4 separate regions of the Homo sapiens genome follow, and regions 1, 2 and 3 are each linked to region 4. Evidence: promoter capture Hi-C in human tissues and cell types (Jung and others, 2019). All regions are on one chromosome and are shown on one strand. The core of a region is centred on a gene start or on the middle of the fragment in contact, and the rest is flanking DNA. Distances in the headings are between cores, read along the strand shown. Region 1 holds the start of SLC39A3 (solute carrier family 39 member 3). Region 2 holds the start of DIRAS1 (DIRAS family GTPase 1). Region 3 holds the start of GNG7 (G protein subunit gamma 7). Region 4 holds the start of PEAK3 (PEAK family member 3).

What was found. The method cuts DNA at HindIII sites, captures the fragments that hold promoters and counts their contacts. A contact is called where the count stands out against the background at its distance.
Region 1: a contact is called between the fragment with the promoter of SLC39A3 here and a fragment that was not itself captured in region 4, in 1 of the 25 tissues and cell types used here (dorsolateral prefrontal cortex).
Region 2: the fragment with the promoter of DIRAS1 here is called in contact with a fragment that was not itself captured in region 4 in 5 of the 25 tissues and cell types used here (dorsolateral prefrontal cortex, heart left ventricle, lymphoblastoid cells and 2 more).
Region 3: a contact is called between the fragment with the promoter of GNG7 here and a fragment that was not itself captured in region 4, in 2 of the 25 tissues and cell types used here (dorsolateral prefrontal cortex and lymphoblastoid cells).

The regions. Positions count from the first base shown.
Region 1 is chr19:2,737,284-2,743,786 of GRCh38, reverse strand. SLC39A3 (solute carrier family 39 member 3) reads left to right here and starts at 3,770. Exons shown (of 3, transcript NM_144564.5): 1 at 3,770-3,842; 2 at 6,408-6,503. RefSeq lists enhancers at 3,489-3,538, 4,239-4,288 and silencers at 3,599-3,998, 4,407-4,674. The HindIII fragment of the contact is 11,347 bases long and covers 1-6,503 here.
Region 2 is chr19:2,718,837-2,725,087 of GRCh38, reverse strand. DIRAS1 (DIRAS family GTPase 1) reads left to right here and starts at 3,716. Exons shown (of 2, transcript NM_145173.4): 1 at 3,716-3,784. RefSeq lists an enhancer at 599-1,511. The HindIII fragment of the contact is 24,571 bases long and covers 1-6,251 here.
Region 3 is chr19:2,698,235-2,704,835 of GRCh38, reverse strand. It overlaps GNG7 (G protein subunit gamma 7), which reads left to right and starts at 2,142. Exons shown (of 5, transcript NM_052847.3): 1 at 2,142-2,190. RefSeq lists a silencer at 1,857-2,246 and an enhancer at 6,154-6,273. The HindIII fragment of the contact is 6,266 bases long and covers 1-5,103 here.
Region 4 is chr19:2,275,984-2,282,328 of GRCh38, reverse strand. PEAK3 (PEAK family member 3) reads left to right here and starts at 154. Exons shown (of 4, transcript NM_198532.3): 1 at 154-242; 2 at 1,394-1,479; 3 at 3,216-3,745; 4 at 5,840-6,345. The coding sequence starts at 1,398. RefSeq lists enhancers at 299-438, 6,344-6,345. The HindIII fragment of the contact is 7,382 bases long and covers 374-6,345 here.

The DNA of each region.
Region 1 (6,503 bases), core at 2,521-5,020, 460 kb before region 4:
TTTTTTATAGAGATAGGGTCTCATCATCTTGCCCAGGCTTGTCTCCAACTCCTGGGCTCAAGAGATCCTCCTACCTCAGCCTCCCAAAGTGCTGGGATTATAGGTATGCACCACTGTGCTGCTTTTATGTTATTTTATATTTTATTAGTATTTTTTTTCTGTTGCGCTCTGAAGACATCTGCTCCTACATGGCTTCTGGTGCACAGGAGGTTTTCAAAAACACGTACTGAATGAATCAAAGCCCAAAGCTTACGTAGCTCTTTCCCTGAGCAGGCTGATTCTCCAAACAATTATGAATAAATATCGCATGCTATGAATTCCCCTTAGGAAGGAGTCGTCCTGTGGCGTCTACCTGGTGTGCTTATGTTACAAGCCATCTTTTTCTTGTCGTGAGTTATGGAAAGCAGAAACAGAGTCAGATCACTCTGCATCTAATAATAAAAATAGCTACCAGAAACAGTGTGTTCCACATGATGACATCAGCGCCACGCAGGCAGAAAATGGCATTAAATGCTAAGAACTTGTAGATGTCTCATTTATAGCCTCTGTGAAACTGAACTCTGTCTTTTGACGCTTTCAATCTCTGTGCCTCCTCCAGTCTTTCCTATTTTAGTGAGCACCAGAATCCATCGGATGGCTCAAAGCAGAAAACCAGAAGTCACCCCCAACACCTCCTTCTCCTGCAACCCACACAGACAAACCAGTGCTAAGTCCTGTCAATTCACCCTCCAAAATATTTCTCAAATTCACCCACTGTCCTTTCTCCTGTCAATGCCCTCAGCTAAACTACCGTCAAGTCTTTTCTTAGAAATAGAGATAGGGTCTCACTATGTTGCCCAGGCTGGTCTCGAACTCCTGGGCTCAAGCGATCTTCCTGCAATGGCTTCCCAATGTGCTAGGATTACAGGTGTGCGCCAAGGCACCCAGCCCAACTCTTGCCCAGAGGGCTCTGAAGTAGTCTCCCTGCTTCCATTCTTGCTTCTCTATAATTCAGCCTTTCTTTACACACGAGTCAAAATAATCTTAAGAATTAAAATTAGATGACAACCTTCACCTACTTAAAATCCTTCAATGAATCACACTGTAATTACGGTAAAATCCAAGTTCCATAGCACGGTCTATGGGACTGTCCCTAATCTCCCATCTCCCTACTGCTCACGAACATTCAGCCAGGCTGGCTTTCCAACTCCTCAAATGCAGCAAGCCCTTCTCCATCTTTTTGTCAACTATCCTCTCTTCTCTCCCCACTTCTCAGTACTTTTTTTTCTTTTTTTTTTTTTTTTTTGAGACGGAGTCTTGCTCTGTCGCCCAGGCTGGAGTGCAGTGGCATGATCTCGGTTCACTGCGACCTCCACCTCACAGGTTCAAGCGATTCTCCTACCTCAGCCTCCCGAGTAGCTGGGATTACAGGCGCCCACCACCACGCCCTGCTAATTTTTATATTTTTGGTACAGACAGGGTTTCACCATGTTGGCCAGGCTGGTCTTGAACTCCTGACCTCAAGTGATCCACCCACCTCAGCCTCCCAAAGTGCTGGGATTATAGGTGTGAGCCACCACACCTGGCCTTCTCAGTACATTTGACTTGGCTAATTCCTGCACAGAAGTCTCTCTCATTCTTTCTTCACAGAACTTAGTACAACCTATAGTTTTTCTAGTATGTATGTGTATTAGTTACCTACTGCCATATGACAAATTTTCCCCCAAACTTAGTGCCAGCAGGCATTGTGGCTCATGCCTGTAATCTCAGCACTTTGGGAGGCTGAGGTGGGAGGGTTTCCTGAATCCAGGAGTTCAAGACTGGCCTGTGTGACATTAGGTAAAAAATTAGCTGGGCATGGTGGCACATGCTCCCAGCTACTCGGGAGGCTGAGGTGGGAGGACTGCTTGAGCCCAGGAGGTCATGGCTGCAGTGAGCTGTGATTGCACCACTGCACTCCAGCCTGGGTGATGGGGCAGGACCCTGTCTCAAAATACAAGCAAACAAACACAAAACTAAGTGGCTAGAACAGCATGTGTTATCTCAGTTTCTGTGGGTGAGGAATTCAGATGCAGTTCATATGGGTCTTCTGTTTTCAGGGTCTTTGTTTTTCTTTCTTTCTTCTTCTTCTTCTTCTTTTTTTTTCTTTTGAGACAGGGTCTCACTCTGTTGCCCAGGCTGGAGTGTAATGGTAATGATTTCAGCTCGCTGTCACCTCTGCCTCCTGGGTCCAAGTGATTCTGATGCCTCAGCCTCCTTAGTAGCTGGGACTACAGGTGCCCGCCACCATGCCTGGCTAATTTTGGTATTTTTAGTAGAGATGGGGTTTTGCCGTGTTGGCCAGGCTAGTCTCAAACTCCTGACTTTAAGTGACCTGCCTACCTCGGCCTTCCAAAGTGCTGGGATTATAGGCATGAGCTACCACATGCAGCCCTGTTTTAGGGTGTTTCAAAGGCTGCAATTGAAGTGAAGCAGTCATCCAAAGGCTCAACTGGGGCAGGACCCTCTTCCATGATCACGTTCATGGCTGTTGGTAGCATTTGGTTCCTTATGGACGCTTGTGCTGAGGGTCTCATTGCCTTGCTGACTGTTGGCTGGAGGACACCCTCAGTTCCTTTCCCTCTGGATCTCTCCAGCATCTTAGCTTGCTTTGTCAAGACACGTAGGCTGAGAAGGCGAGAGACAGGCTCTGCTGGCAAAACAGAAGTCACAATCTCTCATAGCCTAATCGCAGAATGACATCCCATTCATTTGCCATTTTCTATTTGTTAGAATCAAGTCATCAGGCCAAGCGCAGTGGCTCATGCCTGTAATCCCAGCACTTTGGGAGGCCAAGGTAAGAGGATCACCTGAGGTCAGGAGTTCAAGACCAGCCTGGCCAACATGGTGAAACCCCGTCTCTACTAAAAACACAAAAATTAGCCGGCATAGTGGCACACGCCTATAATCCCAGCTACTCGGGAGGCTGAGGCAGGAGAATCGCTTGAACACGGGAGTCGGAAGTTGCAGTGAGCCAAGATCGCGCCATTGCACTCCAGCCTGAGTGACAAGAGCGAGACTCTGTCTCAAAAAAAACCTTTTTTTTTTTTTTAGAGATGGGGTCTCACTATGCTGCCCAGGCTGGCCTTGAACTCCTGGACTCAAGCGATCCTCCCGCCTCGGTCTCTTAAAGTGCTGAGATTACAAGTGTGAGCCACTGCGCCCTGCCAAGATTTGGTTTTTAACTTACGCGTTACCTCCTATACTTATTTTTTCATGGTTTGAACATGTAACATCTACTTTCTTAGCAATTTTGCAGTATGCAATGCATTGTTACGAGCTGTAGCCACCATGATGTACAGTCGATCTCTTGGACTTACTCCTCCTGCCTATCAACAGAGATTTGTTGAAGGGATGAATCTGCTTCTTCAGCCGTCGGTAAGGGGATCAGCAGCGAGGACGCTGAGAGAGGAGCCGCCTCCGTTGGAAATCCCTTCCCATCCACCTCCAAGCCTCTTTCCAAGCGGGATTCAGCACCAGGCGCCCCTGGACAGCTCTGGAAACCCAACCCTGCCGGAACCGTTCCTCGCCAATCCGGGTTTCCCGCCGGGGCCGCTTGGTGGCTGCGCCCGCCGCTCAGCGGGAGGAAACCCCTTTCCTGTGCCGGTAGGAGAGGTGGAGTCGCATATGAGTGGCAGGTTTCGCAGCCAATAGTATGGAAAGTTCTGCCAGCGGGTCTCGGGGAGGCCAATGGGCAGGGGCGTGGGCGGGGCGTGGACCAGCCGCGCCGAGCGGGGCCTCTCCGGGCCGCGTCTGTGGGGTCGAGACTGCGCGGCCGTTGGGCGTGCAGCGGCGCCAGTCGGCGGACGAGGGGCCCCCGGGAGGTAGGTGCGGGCAGAGAGAGGACCTGGGGCGGCGGGGCGGGGCGGCGCTGAGCGGCCGGGGGTCTGTTGGACTCTACCCGCACGTTAGCCGAGGCCCGTCTCCGGTGCCCGGTAGCGCGAGGCACACAGAAGGCGCTCAATAAGTGCTGATTGAATGAATGAGCCCGTGCCCTCCTCATCCCGGCCCGAGCAGCCTCCGGTTTGAGAGCGTGCAGGCCACCCTCACCTTCACTGTACAGACTGAGGTATCCAGATGCCGGACAGGTCTTTATTGGGCGCCTACTGTGTGCCTGGGTGGCTCTGCGCTGGGTGCAGCTGGCCCTGAGCAAGACAGACAGCCTGGTCCCGCCCAGCTCACCGCCGGGGGGGAGGGACGACTTTAAATGACTTAAAATAATGTAATTCCTAGCTCCCTCTGTAGCACAAAATAAAAGAAAATAACACCAGGGAAGGGGGCGGGGAGAGCTCTGAGTGGAGACATCTGAGCAGTGACCCGAAGACCTGAATGCAGTGAGGTAGCGGGGCCATGAGGCGCTTGGGGCTGATGGTGGGGGAGAAAACCCAGTTGGGGAAAACTCAAGGACAGGGGAGGAGCTGAGATTCCTCCTAAGAACGGTGACATTTTGGGGTCCAGGGTGAAACCGACTTCACTTTGGCCCATTGCATCAGGTAAAATGCGGCCCTTATCAGTGGCCACACGCTTCCCCTCGTCCATGTGTTCAGCCAGCGGTTTTTGAGTATCTGTTCTGCAGCAGGCCTTCCGGCGGGTACAGGGATATGGTTTAGGGCAGGAGTCAGCCAGGGGCAGAGAGGGAGGCCCTTTTTTTTTTTTTTTTTTTTTTTTTGAGACGGAGTCTTGCTCTGCAGCCCAGGCTGGAGTACAATGGCGCGATCTCGGCTCACTGCAAGCTCCACCTCCTGGGTTGAAGCAATTCTCCTGCCTCAGCCTCCCGAGTAACTGGGATTACAGGCACGTACCACCATGCCCAGCTAATTTTTTTTTTTTTTGAGACAGAGTCTTACTCTGTCACCCAGGCTGGAGTGCAATGGCTTGATCTTGGCTCACTGCAACCTCCACCTCCTGGGTTCAAGTGATTCTCCTGCCTCAGCCTCCCAAGTAGCTGGGATTACAGGTGCCCACTACCACACCCAGCTAATTTTTGTATTTTTAGTAGAGACAGTGTTTCACTGTGTTGGCCAGGCTGGTCTTGAACTCTCGACCTCAGGTGCTGGTCTCGAACTCTCGACCTCAGGTGATCTGCCCACCTCAGCCTCCCAAAGTGCTGAGATTACAGGTGTGAGCCACCACTCCCAACCGAGGGAGGCCCTTTTGAGGGGTCCTGGATGCAGAGAAGCAAGAAAGAAGAAGGAGGCCTCGCTGGAAGGTCAGGGGAAAGAGAGCAGTGTTCCAGGTGGAGAGAGGAGAACCCATGCAGAGGTCCTGAGGCACGAGCAAGCTTGGCACAGAAAGGACCAGTGAGGGCCGAGGCGAGGCAGGAGCTTGTCATGCAGAGCTTCAGCCTCAGGGTACAGAGTTTAGACTTTATTTCGGGGCATGGGGAAGCCATGGACCACCACCATCCAATAGCATGTTCTGCAGTGATGAGAGTGTTCCCTTTGCTGTCAAATACGGTAACCACAGAAGTCAAGTAGGCTTGTGTGACTACTGAGCGCTTGAAATATGGCCAGGGAGACTGAGGAGCGGAATTTTGTATTTTATTTAGTTTTTTTTTTTTTTTTTTTTTGAGATGGAGTTTTGCTCTTGTTGCCCAGCCTGGAGTGCGGTGGTGCCATCTTGGCTCACTGCAACCTCTGCCTCCTGGGTTCAAGCGATTCTCTTGCCTCAGCCTCCAGAGTAGCTGGGATTACAGGTGCCTGCCACCACGGCCGGCTAATTTTTGTATTTTTGGTAGAGACGGCGTTTCACCATGTTGTCCAGGCTGGTCTCGAATTCCTGACCTCAGGTGATCCACCCACCTCGGCCTCCCAAAGTTCTGGGATTGCAGGTGTGAGCCACTACACCCAGCCTGGATTTTTTTTAATTTTGATGAACTTTTTTCTTTTTTTGAGACAGTGTATTAGTCAGGGTTCTCTAGAGGGACAGAACTAATGGAATAGTTATATATATAAAGGGAAGTTTATTAAGTATTAATTGCACACGATTACAGGGTCTCACAATACATTGTCTGCAGATTGAGGAGCAAAGAGAGCCAGTCCGAGTTCCAAAACTGAAGAACTGGCCAGGTGCAGTGGCTCACGCCTATAATCCTAGCACTTTGGGAGGCCGAGGCAGGCGGATCACGAGGTCAGGAGTTCGAGACCAGCCTGGCCAACATGATGAAACCTCGTCTCTACTACAAATACAAAAAAAATTAGCTGGGAGTGGTGGCGCGTGTCTGTAATCCCAGCTACTAGGCAGGAGAATTGCTTGAATCCAGGAAGCGGAGGTTGCAGTGAGCGGAGATTGCACCATTGCACTCCAGCCTGGCAACAGAGCGAGACTCTGTCTAAAAAAAAAAAAAGAAAAAAGAAAGAAAGCTAATGCAGTGCCCCTGATGTTCACAGTTGCTGGACTGAGACATGAGCCTCCAACTGTGTGGTTGGGCTCGGTAGCACATCGTGGGACTTGGGTGTGCGCCCACAGATGGTTTGGCCCTGCAG
Region 2 (6,251 bases), core at 2,467-4,966, 440 kb before region 4:
GACGGGGTTTCACCTTGTTAGCCAGGATGGTCTCGAGAATTTTTTTTTTTTTTAAGTCAGAGTCTTGCTCTGTTGCCCAGGCTGGAGTACAGTGGTGTGATCTCAGCTCACTGCAACCTCCGCCTCCCAAGTTCAAGTGATTATCCTGCCTCAGCCTCCCAAGTAGCTGGGATTACAGGTGCATGTCACCACATTGGGCTCATTTTTTATAATTTTAGTAGAGACGGGGTTTTACCATGTTGGCCAGGCTGGTCTTGAACTCCTGACCTCGTGTGATCCACCCACCTCAGCCTCCCAAAGTGCAGGGATTACAGGCATGAGCCATCGTGCCCGGCCGAGAAAAATTTTTTAAAATTAGCCGGGCCTGGTGGTGTGTGCCTGTAGTCCCAGCTACTCAGGCGGCTGAGGAGGAAGGATTGCTCGAGCCCAGAAAGTCAAGGCTGCAGTGATCTGCGACCTCACCACGCACTCCAGCTTAGGTGGCGGAGTGAGACCCTGTCTCGATAGATAGATAGATAAGTAGATGATTAATAGATAATAGATGAACAGGTGACAGATGATTGATAGATAATAGGTAAATGATTAATAAATGATGATTGATAGATTAATTGATAGATGACAGATAGATGATTGATAGATGATAGATAGATAGGTGGTAGATTGATTGACTGATTGATTGACAGATGCTAAACTTGAAAAGCAACTGTGTGGCTGAGCCCCTGGGGTGACTCTGCCCCCTGAGGCCAGGATGTGCAACCTCGGCTTTGCCCACATGGTCCAGAGACCACTGAAGAGAGCTGAGGCCGGACCCCACTGCCCTCCTCTCCAAAGGCTAGCCGGGGCTCAGTGAGGCCCACGTGGCCCTGGTCAGGGCAGCAGGGTGAGGAGAGCGGTCGTGGAGCTGCAGGGCCGGGGGAGGAGCTGGACATTGCAGATGAACGCCGTCCCTTGCTGTTCTGCTGAAAGGAGATCTGTAAGGCAGGACCGGCCGAGTGTCCCCAGGACAAGACTGCAGATAGCCAGGGACAGGGCAAGAGGATCACAAGGGGGTGGCCGTCTATCCCCAGCAGGCTGGGCTATGGCTTCAGAGCCTGATGGATCCGGACCGACCTCTTTCCCACTAGGCCACCGTGGGCGAGCCGCTTCCCTTCTCTGAGCAGCAGTTTCCAGATGGGAGCAGGGACAGTGGCCTTGTACAGACTGCTGAGGGCCCAGCACCCACTACACTGGCACTTTGTGTTTGCAGGACCCATGCAGACTGCCCCGGTGGGTTTCACCCTGGGGACTCAACGTGGACGCCTGTGGATCCTGCCCAGCTCGCGAGCTGGAGAGGTTGACAGGTCCTCTTCTCTTTGGCAAAGATGCAGCCGGCCTCAGTCCTCCTCGCCCACCTCTGTGCCTCTCAGGATGCCGAGGGACTCTCCAAAGAGGGACTCGGGTATGAGAGGCAGCAGGGAACCCAGGAAACTCCAGTGCCAGCCCCGGCTTGCTCAGTGCCCCAGTGTGCAAGTGCCCTGGCCCCTGAGATTTGGATCACGGACCTTTCCATGGAGAGGCAGAGCTGGGGCGCCCACCCACCCCCACTCACAAAGGCCAGGCGGAACCCTCTGCTCCCCGGCCCACCATGGGGGAGAAGCTCCTGCTGTCCTAGTTTGGGTGCTCGGAAGAGCTCACTGCCATCTGTGGCCTGGGCACCGCGGGCCATGTGTGGAGACCCCGTTCCTCAGGGACAGCGAGGAGGGGAACAGGGCCTGGCCTCGCCGGCTCACGCGGCCCACAGCCTGGCCTGGGAGCTATAAATAGCAGCCGCAGCGTGGAGTTACCGCCCTGCCCACTCTCCTACGCATGAGTCAGCCTGCCCCGGCCTGAGCTGGTGCCCGGAGGAGACAGGGAGCCGGCCCGACGCCCTGCCCCACGCTGGTGGGTCACTCAGGAGACGAAGGCAGGCAGGCGGACTGGGAAGGGGCAGGGCTGCCGTCTGAGTGCTTGGGTGCCCAGCAGCCCCGTGTAGGTGGGCGCCCTGCCCATGTGTTCCCAGCAACCCTACAGGCGGGCAACAGTGACGTCACTCACAGATGGGGGAACCGATGCTTGAGAAGGCACTTCCCTGCAGGCAGCCATGTAGAGCAGAAGCTGGGATTTGTCTGCCCTCAGGGCTGTCTCCATCTCCTGCTGAGGGCACCCCCAGATGAGGGTCAGGGGCCGGGCCATGCTCTGAGGTGCTCCCGCAGGGCTGGGGTCAGGGTGGGAGGGAGGTGCACGCCAGGAGCACTCAGGCCGGGCCATGGATGCCAGGCTGAGAAGCTGGACCTTGGCCTGGGAGAAGGGAGCCATGGGTGGCGTTAGAGCAGGGGAGGCCCATGTTGCAGTTGGAGCATTGAGTGGCAGAGTGGAAGGAGGGCTGGAGGAAGGGGTCTGGAGGCCAGGAGGGGGAGTGGGGTCAAATCAGGGAGAAATAGAGCTCCTTGAGCCCCAAAGCCGCTTGAACCTCAGTGCCCCAGCCTCAGTGGCAACAGGAGAGGGGACTGAGTGGTCTTGGAGGCAGTGCCAAGTCTCCGCAGAGGCAGATGGGCCCACCTCATCCAGGGCCATGGAAATGGTGGGTCATGGAGAACCCCAGGAGCTGAGGGCCCAAGGGGTTCACCTGCTCACAGGCCTGGTGATGGGGAGCTCACCACCTTCCAGACCAGCCTCTCACCCACTGATGGCTCTGACTCTGGAGAGACCCCTGTGGGTCCCAGAGTTGGCCTCTCCACCAAGGGGCGCCTTCCTCTGACAGCCTTGCGGCCTGGGACTGTCCCGCACCCACCCCTGAGAGCACCTTCTGGCCTGGTCACTAGACCCCAAAGTCCAGTCTCCTCTGGGATCTGCCCGATGAGGCCAAAAGGAACCTCGGCCTCCCGGTCTCCAAAATGGAGGCGGAACCATGGTCTCTTGTGGACACACAGACGCATCAGAAAAGCCAGTGCTCCCCTAAGACACCTCCTGTTGGGGGAACACAAACATTTTCCTAACCGAAAACGGCAAACCCATCCGCTGCAGAGCAGCGCCAGCCCCCTTTGCTCACCCCCCACCTCCCTAGGCCTGACTGCCATGGGCTGCCTCCGCCTCCACAAAACCAGCCCTACAGAGCGCTGAGTCCGCTTCTGCCCCCATCCCGCCCCTGCCCAGGCCCCTGGGATGGGTGGGCCTCCAGGTGCACCCCATTGACCTGAACCCTCCCGCCTCTGCCCGCTTCTAAACCTGTTCATTGATTGTTGATTATCGACTTACTCATTTCACAACGCACCCCTCTGATTCCCCGCCCTGCGTGTGACCGGGCCCCAGCCGGCCTCAGGGGTCCCGTTCTGCACCCCCTTTATCCGCATTTCTGCCAAAGCCCTCCACCCCCGGCTGGACTCTGCTCCTCCCAAGCCGGGCTCCTGGCCCCCACTCGGGGTTCCCCGGGAAGCGGCCCCAGCTCCCACCCCGAGGGAGGGCGCGCGCAGGTGGCTACGTGGCAGGGCGGGGGTCCCGGATCCTGGCGACCTCTCCCACCCCGGGCGCGGGCAGGGGTCCCGCGTGGGGCGGCGGTGACCTTGGCCGGGCGGCGCGCCGGCCCCGTGGGCGCGGGTCCCCGGGGCGGGGCGGGGCGGGGCGGGGCGGGGCGGAGCGCGGGGCCCGGCGGGCGGGGACGGCGCGGGCGCGACTGCGGCGGCTCGGGCGGGCGGGGGGCGGCGGCGCCAGCGGACACCGGAGCGGGCAGGAGCAGCGGCCGCGGCGCCGCAGGGACCAGCGGGCCCAGGTAGGCGGCCCGGGGCGGGGAGGGGGTCCCTGCGCAGCCCCCAGCCGGCCGTCCTCCCCGCCGCGCGTCCCTCCTTTGTCCCGGCCCCAGCCTCCCGGGCCTTGGGGCCGGGCCCTTCCCCGCGTGGCTCCGGGGCCCCTCGCCGGGCGTCCCCCGTCCCTTCCCGCCGGGCCCGGCCGGCCCCTCCGCGCTCACCTTGGACAGCTCCCGGCCGCCTCCCCTCCCCCACCCGGAGGGCGCCCCCCTGCCGAGCCCGCCCCACCGAGGCCCACCCCGCCGCCCCTCTCCGCATTGGTCCCCTCGGGCAGGGCCTCCTCCCTCCTGCAGCCGCCTTCTTCGCCCTCCGCCCCGCTGCCCAGCCAAGCCCCTCCCTCCGCGCCCCCTCCCCGGGGTGGGCTCCTCCTCTCCACCACTGAGGTCCTCCTGAGTCAAGGGTCGCCCCTGGGCTGGCCCCGCACTGTGCCTCTGCGCCCTCGGGCCCCCTAGAGCAGGCCCTTTCTCCATCAAACCCCTCACCGGCCAGGCGGCCCTGGGTCAGACCCCCGCCCCACCCTTGGTCAGGCGTGACCCCCGCTAGACCCCTGGGTCGCGGCTCTCTCTGCTTTCCTGACCCTGAGCTTTGCTTTGACACCCCCGCCCCCACCAACCACGCCGTGCCCGGCCGGGAGCCGGGCTTCAGGGACCCAGGGCTGGGGTAGATTGGCCCTGCCTGGACGTCTGGGGGTGGGCTGCCCCGCACAGGCGGGAAACCCCAGGAGTCTAGCCAAGCAGGGTGGGCTTCCAGCCCCGCTGTGCGCCTCCACCCCCCTGCTCTGTGACCTTGAGCCAGCCCCTCCTGCTCCTGCCTCGGTGCCCACGACCCCCTCCCTCCACCCGCACCCCCCAGGCGGTGGAGGTGGGAAGTGGCGTGGGCTTCGGGGCTGTTGAGTGCAAGCGCCTTTCTGGTCAGGGATTCCAGACCCAGCGGGGAGGACAGTACTGCTCATGGGGGCTGGAGCTTCAGTGCCCGCAGCAAGGCAAAGGCTGGATCTGGGTCCACAGAACCCATGGCCATTAGGACCCCAGGCCGGTCTTGGTGGCGTCTTTCTGCACAGCAGCGTGCCCGCCTCTCAGGGCGCCCACCCAGGAAAGGGCAGGGTCTGCAGCACAGGCCGCCTCCCCCCCACCACCAGCACCCCCAGCCTCCTCCGAATGCCGAGAAATTACTATGCATGTAGTCCACAAACCCGGCAGCCAATCACATGAGTTGGCATTGCCGAGGCGCCCAGAAGTTTGCCTGGCTCATCACAACTGGGGACTGTGTCAGCTGGCGCTTTCATCAGCCTCTTTTCTTTTCCTGGCAAATCTGTTACCCTTGATAATCCAGAAGGTGCCTTTGCAACCAACAGGCACAGCCAAGTGCCCTGCCCACCGGCCCCAAGCCCTTGTGACTGTGATCACAATTGTGATCGGGGTCTCCGCTGTACAGGGCACTGCCTAGGGCCTTTCTCCACCTTGTCACCTTACTTGCCCCAACAGTGGCTCGCATTTCACAGAAGAGAAAACGGAGGCTTAGGGACTTGAATTTGCCTGTTTAGGTTCAAACCACTGACCCCCGGGGAACCTCTGGACCCTCCCCATAAACACACCCCCACCCCCAGTGCAGCAGGTAGAAACTGGTTCCTCCTCCTCTCCCACTGTAGACCACCTTGCTGGGGAACACCCCTCCCCCACCCCCCACCGCTGCCCCAGAGCCTGGAAGGAGGAAGGGGAGGGGAGGACATCAATTCTGGAGATAAGCCACCCGCCCTCCCCCCAGCGTTCTTCCCCCACCTCCATCATTTCAGGATCTGCTGTGCTGTGTGACCTCCTCAGGCTGCTGGACCTCTCTGAGCCCAAGAAGGAAGAGAGGGGCTAAGAGGTGCCCCTCCCAGGAAGTGCTATTCTAAGGATCCTTCAGACCTGAACGGGAGGGGCTAGGGCACACCAGGCCATAGTTTGATTTTAGAGTTTAGGGAGTGGCGATTTTCCCGTTCAGCTTCTGGATTTTGTATTTTTGTGTCCCACCTGGGCTGCAAGACCCTTCCTCCCTGGGGCGGCTATTGGGAATCAGTGCCCTGATTTGCAAATTGTGGTTCTCAGATTCCCAGCCTCAGGATCCCATTTATGGCAGGTGAGGAGAGCAGCCCTGTAATACAAGTTCCAGCTGGATGCGGTGTCTCACACCTGGAATCCCAGCACTTTGGGAGCCCGAGGCGAGAGGAGCACCTGAGGTCAGGAGTTCAAGACCAGCCTGGCCAACATGGCGAAACCCCGTCTCTACTGAAAATACAAAAATTAGCCGGGTGTGGTGGTGCATGCCTGTAATCCCAGCTACTCTGGAGGCTGAGGCAGGAGAATTGCTTGAACCGAGGAGGCAGAGGTTGCAGTGAGCCGAGATTGCACCACTGAACTCCAACCTGGGCAACAGAGCAAGACTTGGTTTTAA
Region 3 (6,601 bases), core at 893-3,392, 420 kb before region 4:
CTATTTTGAAATGTACAATACATTGTTGCTAACTACAGTCACCCTATTCTGCTATCAAACATTAGAATTTATTCTAATACTATATTTGATAGCAGAATACATCCTATTCTGCTATCAAACATTAGAATGTATTCCTTCTGTCTAACTGAATGTTTGTACTCATAACTCACCTCTTTTCATTTCCCCCCCACTCAACCTACACAACTTTCCAGCCTCTGGTATTGATCATTCTACTCTCTACCTCCATGAGATCAACTCTCTGGTTCCCACGTATCAGTGACAACATGCCCTATTTGTCTTCCTGTGTCTGGCTTATTTCACTTTTTCACTTAATATAATGACCTCCAGTCCCATCCATTTTGCTGCAAATGACAGGGTTTTATTCTTTGTTATGGCCGAATCATATTGCATTGTGTATTTAACACTTTTTTTTTTTTTTTTTGAGACAGAGTCTCACTCTATCGCCCAGGCTGGAGTGCAGTGGTGTGATCAAAGCTCACTGCAGCCTCAACCTCCTAAGCTCAAGCGATCCTCCTGCTTTCGCCTCCGAAGTAGCTGGGACTACTGGTGTGCGCCGCCAGGCCTGGCTAATATTTTAATTTTTTTGTAGAGTTGCGGTCTCAGTATGTTGCCAGGCTGGTCTTGAACTCCTGGGCTCAAGCGATCCTCCCGCTTCAGCCTCCCAAAGTGCTGGGAATACAGTCGTGAGCCACCGTGCCCTTCCCAAGCTCTATCTAGACAGTCATTCCTCTTGGGGGATGCCAGCTGGGGAGAGCCTGGAGGAGGGCAAGCAGGGAGATGGAGGTTTCTCTGTGCCCTGCAGGGCAGGCCACTGGAGTCCAGAGGATGAGCAGGGAGGTTCTTGCAGGGATGACAGGAACCCTGGGGAAGTTTATCTTGGATTTTGGCCAGCAGCTCCAATCCCAGGGCTCAGGTGGGGCGGCAAGGACACACAGTGTCAGCGCCTGATGAAATCCCTGAGGTCACAGAATATGGTGGCTCCATCTTCCTTCCAGGGCTGTGTACTGCTTTTGGAGACATACAAAGTGTTTTCCAATATTCCCAAGGGAGCTTGTGGAAAATGAAGATTCCAGGCCTGTAATCCAAGCATTTTGGGAGGCAGAGGCAGGAGAATCACTTGAGCCCAGGAGTTCAAGACCAGTTTGGGCAACATAGCAAGACCCCATCTCTAACAAAAAAAAATTAGCCAGGGCCAGGCACGGTGGCTCACGCCTGTAATCCCAGCACTATGGGAGGCCAAGAAAGGTGGATCACCTGAGGTCAGGAGTTGGAGACCAGCCTGGCCAAAACGGTGAAACCCTGTCTCTACTAATAATACAAAAATTAGCTGGATGTGGTGGTGCGTGCCTGTGGCCCCAGCTACCCGGAAGGCTGAGGTGGAAGGACTGCTTGAGCCTGGGACTTCAAAGCTGCAGTGAGCTATGACTGCACCACTGCAGTCCAGCCACGGCAATTGAGTGATACCCTGTCTCAAAAACAAAACGAAAACTAAACAAAACACAGATTTCAGGGTCCAGTTCCCTATAGGATTCTGGTTCATTCCATCTGTGTTGGGGCTCAGGAATTTGTGGATCCAGGGCCATGAGTTAGGAAACTGAGAAATCTTGGAAATGATGAGACAGGCTTGGGCAAATGACCTTAGGTTTCACCTTTCTGAGACCCAGTTTCCACCTCTGTAAAATGTGGATAGTAATCTCGCCTTCTGGCCTTATGCGGAGGGTCCCACGAGAGGGAGCCTATAAAGTCTTCAAGAAAGCGGTGCAGCAGTTATGATCACTGACATTCTTCCCCAGCAAATGAGCCCCCGGAGCTGGCATGCAGGATTCGAACCAGCTCACCTAGCGCGGGATTCGAACTCGCGAAACTACTCGCGCCTTCCTGACGTCACGAAGTCACCCTGGAAAGCCGCTCTTCGCCCCGCCCCCGGCCCCGCCCGCGCCCGGAGCCCCGCCCCACTCTCCTGGGCGCAGCCTACCCCGCTGCCTGCCCCGCGCCCCGCCCCCGCTCCGGCCTCCCGCAGCCGGGGCTCGCGATTGGCCTTGCCGGGACGCCAGGGCCCGCCCCCCGAGTGTCGGCCCCGCCCCCGCAGAGGGGAGCGAGCGCTCGCGGGCCGGGGCGGAGGGTTCGGCTGCGCGGCGGGGCTGAGGCGGCCGCGGGGCCCGAGCGCAGGTAAGGGCGCCCGCGAACCGGGCCAGGGGAAGTGAGGGCGCGGCCGGCGTCCCGGAGAGGGGACTGGGACAGCTCGGATTCGGCTGCGGACCGAGTTGGGGGTCGGAGTCGGCTGAGGAGGGGGGCTGGGTCTGGGGACCCGGGCTGCAACTGGAGGCTGGGGTTGGAATTGGGGACGGGGCTGCGCTTAGGGGGTCGAAGTTAGCTGGGGAGGGGCTGGGGTTGGGGATTGGGACTGCACTTGGGGCTCAGGGCTAGCTGGGGAGGGGGCGGGAGTTGCAGGTCGAGGTTAGCTGGGGACGGGGCAGGGGGTGCAGATCGAGGTTAGCTGGGGAAGGATTGGGTCTGGGCATTGGGACTCCACTTAGAAATCAGGGCCAGCTGGGGAGGAGGCTGGAGTTGCAGGTCCAGGTTAGCTGGGGAGGGGGCTGGAGGTGGGATTGGAGGTCTGAGTTAGCTGAGGAGGGGGCTGGGGGTGAGACTGGAGGTCTGAGTTATCTGGGGAGGGGACTGGAGTTGCAGGTCGAGGTTAGCTGGGGAGGGAGCTTGGAGCGGGATTGGAGGTCTGAGTTGGCTGGGGAGGGGTCTGGAATTGCAGGTCCAGGTTAGCTAGGAAGGGGCTGGTGGTGGAATTGGAGGTCTTGAGTTTGCTGGGGAGGGGGCTAGAGTCGCAGGTCGAGGTTAGCTGCCGAGGGGGCTTGGAGTGGGATTGGAGGTCCAAGCTAGCTGGGGAGGGGGCTGGAATTGTAGGTCGAGGTTAGCTGGGGAGGGGGCTGGAAGTGGAATTGGAAATCTGAGTTAGCTGGGGAGGACGCTGGGGATGGTGTTGGGGGTTGAGGTTAATTGGAGCGGGGAACAGGGGTTGAGTCAAGGGTGCAGCTTCTTTGAAGAGGGAGCTGGGAGTGGGGTTGAGGTTTGCAGGGAGCTGGAGAGGGGGCTGGGGATGGAGTTTGAAGTGGGGTTCATTGGAGAGGGGGCTGCAGAGGGAATTAGATGTTGAGGTTGTCTGGGGAGAGGACTGAGGAATGGGGTTGGTGAAGATGGGGGGGTGTGATTGACGGCCCAGGGGTTAGGGTTAGCTGAAAAGGGGCAGAAGGACAAAGCTGGGGTGAGCCAGGGAGTGGCTGGAGCATACAGGTGGGGGTCAGGCTTGTTCCAGAAAGGGTCTGGGGGCTATCAGGGGAAATGGGGAGCTTGTGAGTGTGTGGGGTGGAAGGGGGTTCAGGGAGAAGGAAGTTGGGGTGAGTTAGTGAGAAGGGAGGTGGGGGTAAGGTCCCAGGCTGGAGACACCTGGGGGCAGGTGTTTTGCTAGACATTGACTAATCAGGAGGAAAACGGGGTGTGGGGAGGTGTCTCAGGTAGGATCCAGTTAAAAGGAATTTGGAGAGGACTCACCCCTCTACTTTTGGGGGAGATGTTAATTGTTTGCTCTAGAACTGGGCACGGGGCAGAACCCCCTGGGGAACAGTGAGTTGAAGGAGACGGGAGTTCGGAATACTTTTTGAGGTTTATTTCTAGGATATAGGGTGCCAAGGAGAACGCTTCAGGAAGGAGAAAGGCTCCTGTCGGTGACTGAATTTTTCAGGAACTAAAGTGGGAGTTTTTGGGACGGTGCTATTGAGCGACGTGGGTGGCACTTTATTTTTCCTGGGGAGCGGGGGTTGCTAGGGGTTGGGAGGTGGGCGGTGGAAGACAGGCTTGATGAACAGAGGCAGCGGATCCCCAGCTAAGCGTCTTCACACGGTTGCTAGGTGTCAGCGAGGCAAATGCCAAGTTCACAAACTTGTTCCCGTCGTGGGATGCTGCGATCTTGCCTTGATGGAGTGTCGGGGGCCTCTGGGAGGTGCGCCTGTGTGTGTTCCGACCCAGCCTCTCGCTGCGGATTTGGCTGTATCATCTTTTGGAGGTGTTGTTTACTCCCCTGCAAAGCGGGAATAATAAAAACAGTAGCATGTGCCTCTCAGGGTCGAATTACGGGATGTATGCATGGACTATTTCCTAGCATATAGTGAGGGTACCTGAAGCATGGAGAATAATGGACTCAATCCAGTTTTTTTCTTTGGTGGGTTTGGAGATGGAGGAGTGGGATGACTGGGTTGTCACAGAGGAGAGGAAAGGAAGTGACTGGAACTTGACTCTAGTCCTGCAACCTTAGGAGCACACATCAGGGTCACCCCCAGAAGCTTTAAAAAATAACCTGCATGGCTGGTTGTGGTGGCTCATGCCTGTAATCCCCGCGCTTTGGGAGGCCGAGGCGGGTGGATCACCTGAGGTCAGGAGTTTGAGACCAGCCTGGCCAATATAGCGAAAACCTGTCTCTACTAAAAATATCAAAAATTAGCTGGGCATAGTGGCGTTTGCCTGTAATCCCAGCTACTTGGGAGGCTGAAGCAGGAGAATCGCTTGAACCCAGGAGGTGGAGGTTGCAGTGAGCCAAGATCACGCCATTGCACTCCAGCCTGGGCAACAGAGAGAGACTCTGCCTCAAAAAAATAAAGGAAAAAAAAAAAAAGGACTGCAACAACAACAAAAATATGTCTTATTATTATTGTTATTATTATTATTATGTTGAGACAGAGTCTCAAATATGGAGCCTGTTTCCATATTATTAAAAGTGAGTAAAAAACTGAAAAGAAAGAAGACTTTGCCCACACCTGGTGGCAGGAGAGTCTCAAAGCTCGTTAAGTAACAGATGCACCTGTTCAAGAGAAGGCTGCCTGGGTCATTCTGATTAGGGGCACCCCGTAAGGAACCACATCGAGCTGTGATTATACGCTTGAAATTTTGAGTTTACAACTTCAGTTCATGGGGTGCGTCTGGGTCTCTCTATCCCAGCGCTGCGGACATTTGGGATCTGATTGTCCTCTGGGGTGGGGCCTTCTGGGCACTGCAGGGTGCCGAGCAGCATCCCTGACCTCCACCCACTCCACACCAGGAGCTCCCCGCATTGTGACAACCACAGATGTCTCCGGATATCACCCAGCGTCCTGTAGGGACAGAGATACTCCAGTGTGGAACCCTTGTTATAGACAAAACTGATTTATTTTCTCCTTTAACGACCTCATCTCCCCTTTGATGTGCAGGAAGTGGGGTCATTCAGAATTGAGGATTGCTTTTAAGTCATTTAGTGCTGTCATTCGGAGAGGGGAGAAGTAAGGTCTCACTGCTTTTAGAAAACATTAGAAATGCCTACTTATGGCTGGGTGCGGTGGCTCACGCCTGTAATCTCAGCACTTTGGGAGGCCGAAGTGGGTGGATCACTTGAGGTCAGGAATTCAAGACCATCCTGGCCAACATGGTGAAACCCCATCTGTACTAAAAATACAAAAACTAACTGGGCGTGGTAGCACACGCCTGTAATCCCAGCTACTTGGGGGGCTGAGGCAGGAGAATCACCTGAACCCAGGAGGCAGAGGTTGCAGTGAGCTGAGATTGCACCACTGCACTCCAGCCTGGGCCACAGAGTGAGACTCTGTCTCAAAAAAAAAAAAAAAAAAAGGCTACTCCTTTCTAGGTGGGCCTTTTATGTGGCTTTTGAACACTTAGTACTGATTTAGAAGATGGCCTGAAGTTGTCAGTTGCAAGCATTGGAAGATGACAATGTTTGCAATGTGCTTTCTTGGTTTTAACCTGGAACGTGAAGCTTCCAACGAAGCTCAAATTCTGCAGGTGCGTCTCGATCTTACAGAGGAGCTTTATTTAGAAAACATCCTTTGACCGATACCGTTATTTTCTGTTCTTGTTTCATGCTTCGTAAACCCTGGGGCCCCACTGTTTGAAGGCAAAGAGAACTAAACACAAATTACCCTCACGTGTAGACAATTCAGCTTCGTGTTTACTGAATGGAGGCATTTTTCTTGTTCACCGATAGTAGTGGAAAACACTCCTTTCTTCATTCAAGGTGTTATTCGGATTTTTTCAGTTCCATCTGGAAGCAGCGATGGTCTTTAAAATCGTATCCAGAGTCATTTGTATTTTTGAAGATGCTTCATGGTTTCTTACAGGAAGGTCGTGCCTGGTCTCTATAGGCTTGGGAGCTGGTGCTTTCTTTTTTTCTTTTCTTTCTTTTTTTTTTCTTTTTTGAAACACAGTCTTTCTCTGTCACCAAGGCTGGAGTGCAATGGTGCAATCTTGGCTCACTGCAACCTCCGCCTCCAGGGCTCAAGCAATTCTTCTGCCTCATCCTCTCGAGTAGCTGGGATTATGGGCGTACACCACTGCACCCGGCTAATTTTTATATTTTTAGTAGAGACGGGGTTTCACCATATTGCCCAGGCTGGTCTCAAACTCCTGACCTCAGGTGATCCACCTACCTCGGCCTCCCAAAGTGTTGGGATTACAGGCGTGAGCCACCGCGCCCGGCCTGTCCTTTTTTTTTTGAGACATGGTCTCATTCCGTTGCCCGGGCTGG
Region 4 (6,345 bases), core at 2,815-5,314:
TTCCCTCCCGGTTACATCCTGTCCTCTGCGGGCGGGCAGGGGAGGCGGCGGCCTCGGCTGCTGGGGAAGTGTTGCAGAAATGTCCCCTCCCCACCCCGGGCTGCGGTCTGACAGTGGGCCGGACGTTTTCCTGTCAGCTGCCGGCGCCAGGTCAGACCCCTCCTGCGAGGCCAGGGGCTGTGGCCATTGGGAGTTTGTCCCCACGGACCCCTCCTCCCCCAGAGGGCACGCCAGTCTTGAAGGTAGGGGGCTCCTGGAGCGGGGAGCTGGACAGAAGCGGCCACTTTTTGAGGTTGGGATCTGGGCGGGGGTGGGTCGAGGCCTGGCTGCCGGCAGCAACCGCACGGCTGAGCCCTCGGGGATGAGGCCTGAGTGTGGATCCCTGGGTCCCTGGACACTGTCTCCCCCGCAACTGACCCCCAAAGGCCTGTCCTCAGGCTGAACACTCTGTCCCCATCCCAAACGTGCAGAGGGGGGTCCTTCCCACTGCCTGGAAAATTGATGGGTGACAGACCTGCCTCATGATTGAGGAAGTGGGCCCAGAGAGGGCAGGAAACCCACTCGGGATCACACAGCAGGGCCCCAGAGAGGGCAGGAAACCCACTCAGAATCACACAGCAGGGGCCCAGAGAGAGTAGGAAACCCACTCGGGATCACACAGCAGGGCCCCAGAGAGGGCAGGAAACCCACTCGGGATCACACAGCAGGGCCCCAGAGAGGGCAGGAAACCCACTCGGGATCACACATCAGGGGCCCAGAGAGGGCAGCAAACCCACTCAGGATCACACAGCAGGGCCCCAGAGAGGGCAGCAAACCCACTCAGAATCACACAGCAGGGGCCCAGAGAGAGTAGGAAACCCACTCGGGATCACACAGCAGGGCCCCAGAGAGGGCAGGAAACCCACTCAGAATCACACAGCAGGGGCCCAGAGAGAGTAGGAAACCCACTCGGGATCACACAGCAGGGCCCCAGAGAGGGCAGGAAACCCACTCGGGATCACACATCAGGGGCCCAGAGAGGGCAGCAAACCCACTCAGGATCACACAGCAGGGCCCCAGAGAGGGCAGCAAACCCACTCAGAATCACACAGCAGGGGCCCAGAGAGAGTAGGAAACCCACTCGGGATCACACAGCAGGGGCCCAGAGAGGACAGGAAACCCACTCGGGATCACACAGCAGGGGCCCAGAGAGGACAGGAAACCCACTCGGGATCACACAGCAGGGTCAAAACTGGACAAGGGAGTGGAGTGTGGGTGCGCCTGTTCTCACCAAGGGCCCTGGAGCAGGAGGCCTCGACGGTCTCCCAGGCCCCAGCACTCACGGACCCCTCCCCATGTCGCCCTGTGCGTGCACACGGTCACCCCACACACGCCCCGTTTGACCTTTCCCCAGCAACATGAGCAGCCCGGAGCCCCCCACAGAGCCCCCCGAGCCCGACAACCCCACCTGGTCGACTCAGCCCACGTATAGCAACCTTGGTAAGCAGCTCCCCAGGGAGCCCTGGGCTGCGGGGGTGCAGGGAGCGGCAGGGGGGTGCAGGGAGCGGCAGGTGGGTGCAGGGAGCGGCAGGAGGTTGCCGGGCACCATGGCCTCTGGGAACAGCAGCAGCTGGTAAAATGAGTGACCTCCGGGAAGGCCCGGAGTAGGCCAGGGCTGAAAAATAACCTGTGGGTTGGTGGGCGGGGCGTGGTGGCTCACGCCTGTAATCCCAGCACCTTGGGAGGCTGAGGCAGGTGGATCCCTTGAGGCCAGGAGTTCAAGACCGGCCTGGGCAATATAATGAGACCCGCCCCCCATCTCTACAAAACAAAAAAAATGAGATGGACATGGTGTCAAGAGCCTGCAGTCCCAGCTGCTCGGGAAGCTGAGGTGGGAGGATCCCTTGAGCCCAGGAGGTCAAGGCTGCAGTGAGCCATGAAATAGAAAAAAATATATACCATTAAAAAGAGAGAGAGGCTGGGCACGGTAACTCATGCCTGTAATCCCACCCTTTAATCCCAGCACTTTGGGAGGCCAAGGAGGAGGATCACTTGAGGCCAGGAGTTCAAGACCAGCCTGGCCAACATGGCAAAACCTGTCTCTGCTAAAAATACAAAAATTAGCCAGACATGGTGGTGCATGCCTGTAATTCCAGCTACTCGGGAGGCTGAGGCAGGAGAATCGCTTGAACCTGTGAGGCAGAGGGTGCAGTGAGCCAAGACTGAGCCACCGCACTCCAGCCTGGGCGACAGAGGGAGACTCCATCTCAAAAAAAAAAAAAAAAAAAAAAAAAAAGGCCAGGTGCAATGGTTCAAGCCTGTAATCCCAGCACTTTGGGAGGCCGAGTCAGGCAGATCACCTGAGGTCAGGAGTTTGAAACCAGCCTGGCTAACATGGTGAAACCCCATCTCTACTAAAAATACAAAAATTAGCTGGGCATAGTGGCGGGCGGGCACCTGTAGTCCCAGCTACTTGGGAGGCTGAGGTAGGAGAATCGCTTGAACCTAGGAGGCGGAGGTTGCAGTGAGCCGAGATCGTGCCACTGCACTCCAGGCTGGGCGACAGAGCAAGACTTCAAAAAAGAAAAAAAGCAAGACAGACGCTTGTGCAAAGCCACGGAGGTAAGTGGGAGTCGCTGAGTGCTGGGTGGCATCACTCTCTGAAACTGATCCATCCTCCTATAAGCCTCAGTTTCCCCTTCTGTAAGCTCTGCCGCCCAGGCTGGAGTGCAGTGGCACAATCTCGGTTCACTGCAAGCTCCACTTCTCAAGTTCACACAATTTTCCTGCCTCAGCCTCCCGAGTAGCTGGGACCACAGGCGCCCACCACCAAGCCCGGCTAATTTTTTGTATTTTTAGTAAAGACGGGGTTTCACCGTGTTAGCCAGGATGGTCTCGATCTCCTGACCTCGTGATCCACCCATCTCGGCCTCCCAAAGTGCTGGAATTACAGGCATGAGCCATTGTGCATGGCCGCGTCCGGCAAATTTTTAAAAAATTTTTGCAGAGACAGGGTCTCACTATGTTGCCCAGGCTGGTCTCAAACCCTAGGTTCCAGTGATCCTCCTGCCTCGGCTTCCACCTTCCTAAGTGCTGGGATTACAAGCATGAGCCACCGGCGCCCAGCCTCATTACTTCCATGTTAGAGATGGGGAAACCGAGGCTGAGAGGTGGAGTCACGTGTCCCGTTCCCACTCCGCCTGTCCTCAACCCTCCCCCACTGTCTCTCCCTGCAGGTCAGATCCGTGCCCACCTGCTGCCCTCCAAGGCCTGCCGCCTCCGGACCCCTGGGTCCCTCTCCACCAACCCAGAGCCCCTGCCCCCACCCCTGCCCAAGAAGATCCTAACCCGGACCCAGTCACTGCCCACCCGCAGGACCCTCCATCCCAGCTCCATCCAAGTACAGCCGCCTCGGAGACCCTTTCTGGGGTCCCACAGTGTGGACAAGAGCCAGGCTGCAGTGGGACCAGCCTGTCTCCCTGCAGAGCTGACCTTTGGCCCGGCTGACGCCCCACTGGGCCTCTCCCTCCGCGATCTGCACAGCCCGGAGGCTGTGCACACTGCACTGGCTGCGCGGCAGCTGCAGGGCCTCCGTACCATCTATGCCCGGCTCCGTGCCCGGCTCATGGGGGGCCACCCCGGGCCCTGCCACCCCGGCCACAGCTTCCGCCTCCTAGACAGCTCACCCTGCGCAGAGAGCGGGGACGCCCTGTATTACCGCGTGGTGCGCGCGCACGAGGACGCCTGGCACATCCTGGTCGCCAAGGTGAGCCCCACAGCCCCACCCTCTCTGAGGTGTCCCCAGTGCCCCATCTTAGACATAACCCAGGGCTTGTTTCATTTGGCCTTTCTGTGAGTCAGTTCTCACACTGCTGTAAAGAAATACTGGAGCCGGGCGCGGTGGCTCACGCCTGTCATCCCAGCACTTTGGGAGGCCAAGGCGGGCGGATCAGCTGAGGTCAGGAGTTCAAGACCAGCCTGGCCAACATGGTGAAACCCAGCCTCTACTAAAAATACAAAAATTAGGTGTGGTGGCGGGCGCCTGTAAACCCAGCTACTTGGGAGACTGAGGCAGGAGAATTGCTTGAACCCGGGAGGCAGAGGTTGCAGTAAGCCAAGATTGGGCCATTGCACTCCAGCCTGGGCAACAGAGTGAGACTCCGTCTCAAAAAAAAAAAAAAGAAAAAGGCCGGGCACAGTGGCTCACACCTGTAATCCCAGCACTTTGGGAGGCCGAGGCGGGCAGATCACGAGGTCAGGAGATACAGACCATCCTGGCTAACACGGTGAAACCCTGTTTCTACTAAAAAGACAAAAAATTAGCCGGGCGTGGTGGTGGGCACCTGTAGTCCCAGCTATTTGGGAGGCTGAAGCAGGAGAATGGCATGAACCCAGGGGGCAGAGCTTGCGGTGAGCCGAGAACGCACCACTGCGCTCCAGCCTGGGCGACAGAGCGAGACTCCGTCTAAAAAAAAAAAAAAAGGCTGGGCAGCACAGTGGCTGACGCCTGTAATCTCAGCACTTTGGAAGGCCAAGGCGGGCAGATCATGAGGTCAGGAGTTCGAGACCAGCCTGGCCAACATAGTGAAACCCCCATCTCTACTAAAAATACAAAAATTAGCCGGGCGCGGTGGTGCGCACCTGAAGTCCCAGCTACTTGGAGGCTAAGGCAGGAGAATCACTTGAACCTGGGAGGCGGAGGTTGCAGTGAGCTGAGATTCGAAAATTGGGCTATTGCACTCCAGCCTGGGCGACAGAGTGAGACTCTGTCTCAAAAAAGAAAAACAAAAGAGAAGAAAAAAGAAAAGAAAAGAAAAAGGAATACTGGAGACTGGGTAATTTATAGAGAAAAGGGCCTTAATTGGCTCATGGTTCTGGTGGCTTCTGCTTCTGGGGAGGCCTCAGGAAGCTTCCAATCATAGTGGAAGGCGAGGCGGGAGCAGGCATCTCACACGGTGGGAGCAGGAGGAAGGGAGGGAGGAGGTGCTACTCACCTTTACACAGCCAGATCTCACGAGAACTCACTCGTTATCCCAACGACAGTGCCAAGGGAGATGGTGCTGAGCCATTCATGATAAACCACCCCCAAGATCCAAGTCGCCTCCCACCAGACCCCACCTCCAACACTGGGGAATGAGATTTGGTGGGGACACAGATCCAGACCATATTAGACTTGTTTATTTTGCAACTAACACGTGAATCAACGCAGTTAACCCAGGAAACCATGTTTCTAAAGTATGGGGCCATGGGTATGGCCTTGGAGCTCTTGTCAAAACCCCTCCCACACCTCTCTGGCCGGGGATCTGCTTTTGTGTTTTTTGTTTTGTTTTTTGTTTTTGAGACAGAGTCTCACTCTGTTGCCCAGGCTGGAGTGCAGTGGCGCGTTCTCGGCTCACTGCAACCTCCACCTCCCGGGCTCAAGCGATTCTCTCACCTCAGCCTCCGAAGTAGCTGGGATGACAGGCGCGCCACCACGCCCAGCTAGTTTTGCATTTTTTAGTAGAGACGAGCGTTCCCTGCGTTGGCCAGGCTGGTCTCGAACTCCTGACCTCAGCGATCCCCCTGCCTCCCAAAGTGCTGGGAAGGCGTGAGCCACCGCGCCCGGCCCAGGAATCTGCTTTCGAACTCATTGCCCAGGAACATCTTCTTCCCTGGCTTAACTTTCCTGAAAGTCCTTACTGGTGACTAACTTCCAAATTAACACTGACCTCCTGCTGCTGGAGGGATGCAGGCAGCCCCTAGCCGTAGTGGGGGCAGTTTGGGGGTGTGCGTGGGAGGCTTCGGGGCAGGTAGCACTGGGGCAGGCGGTGCTTGTGGGGGGCCCAGTGATCCAGGCCCCGACACCCCCTCTGCCTTGCAGGTGCCCAAGCCCGGGGCGGACGTGCCCCACCCGTGGGGCCTGGAGCTGCAGGCCTCCCTGTCTCCACACTTCAATCTGCAGGGGCTGTGTGGCCTGGTGCCTGAAGGCACACTGCCCGGGGCGCCCTGGAGAGGCGCAGTGGCGCTGGCAGCCGAGGTTCCAGAGCGCACGGTGGCGCAGTGGCTGGCGGAGGCCTGCACGCAGCCGCCGGAGGAGTTCGTGTGGGCTGTGGCCCTGCTGCTGCTGCAGCTGAGCGCGGCCCTGAAGTTCCTGGAGGCGTGGGGCGCGGCCCTAGTCGAGTTGCGGCCGGAGAACTTGCTGCTGGTGGCACCTCGGGGCTGTGCGACGACGGGGCCCCCACGCCTGCTCCTCACTGACTTTGGCCGCGTCTGTCTGCAGCCCCCTGGACCCCCGGGATCCCCGGGCCCCCACGCGCCGCAGCTGGGCAGCCTCCTCCGAGCGCTGCTCAGCCTTGCTGCGCCCTCGACCACGCCTTTGGCCGCGGG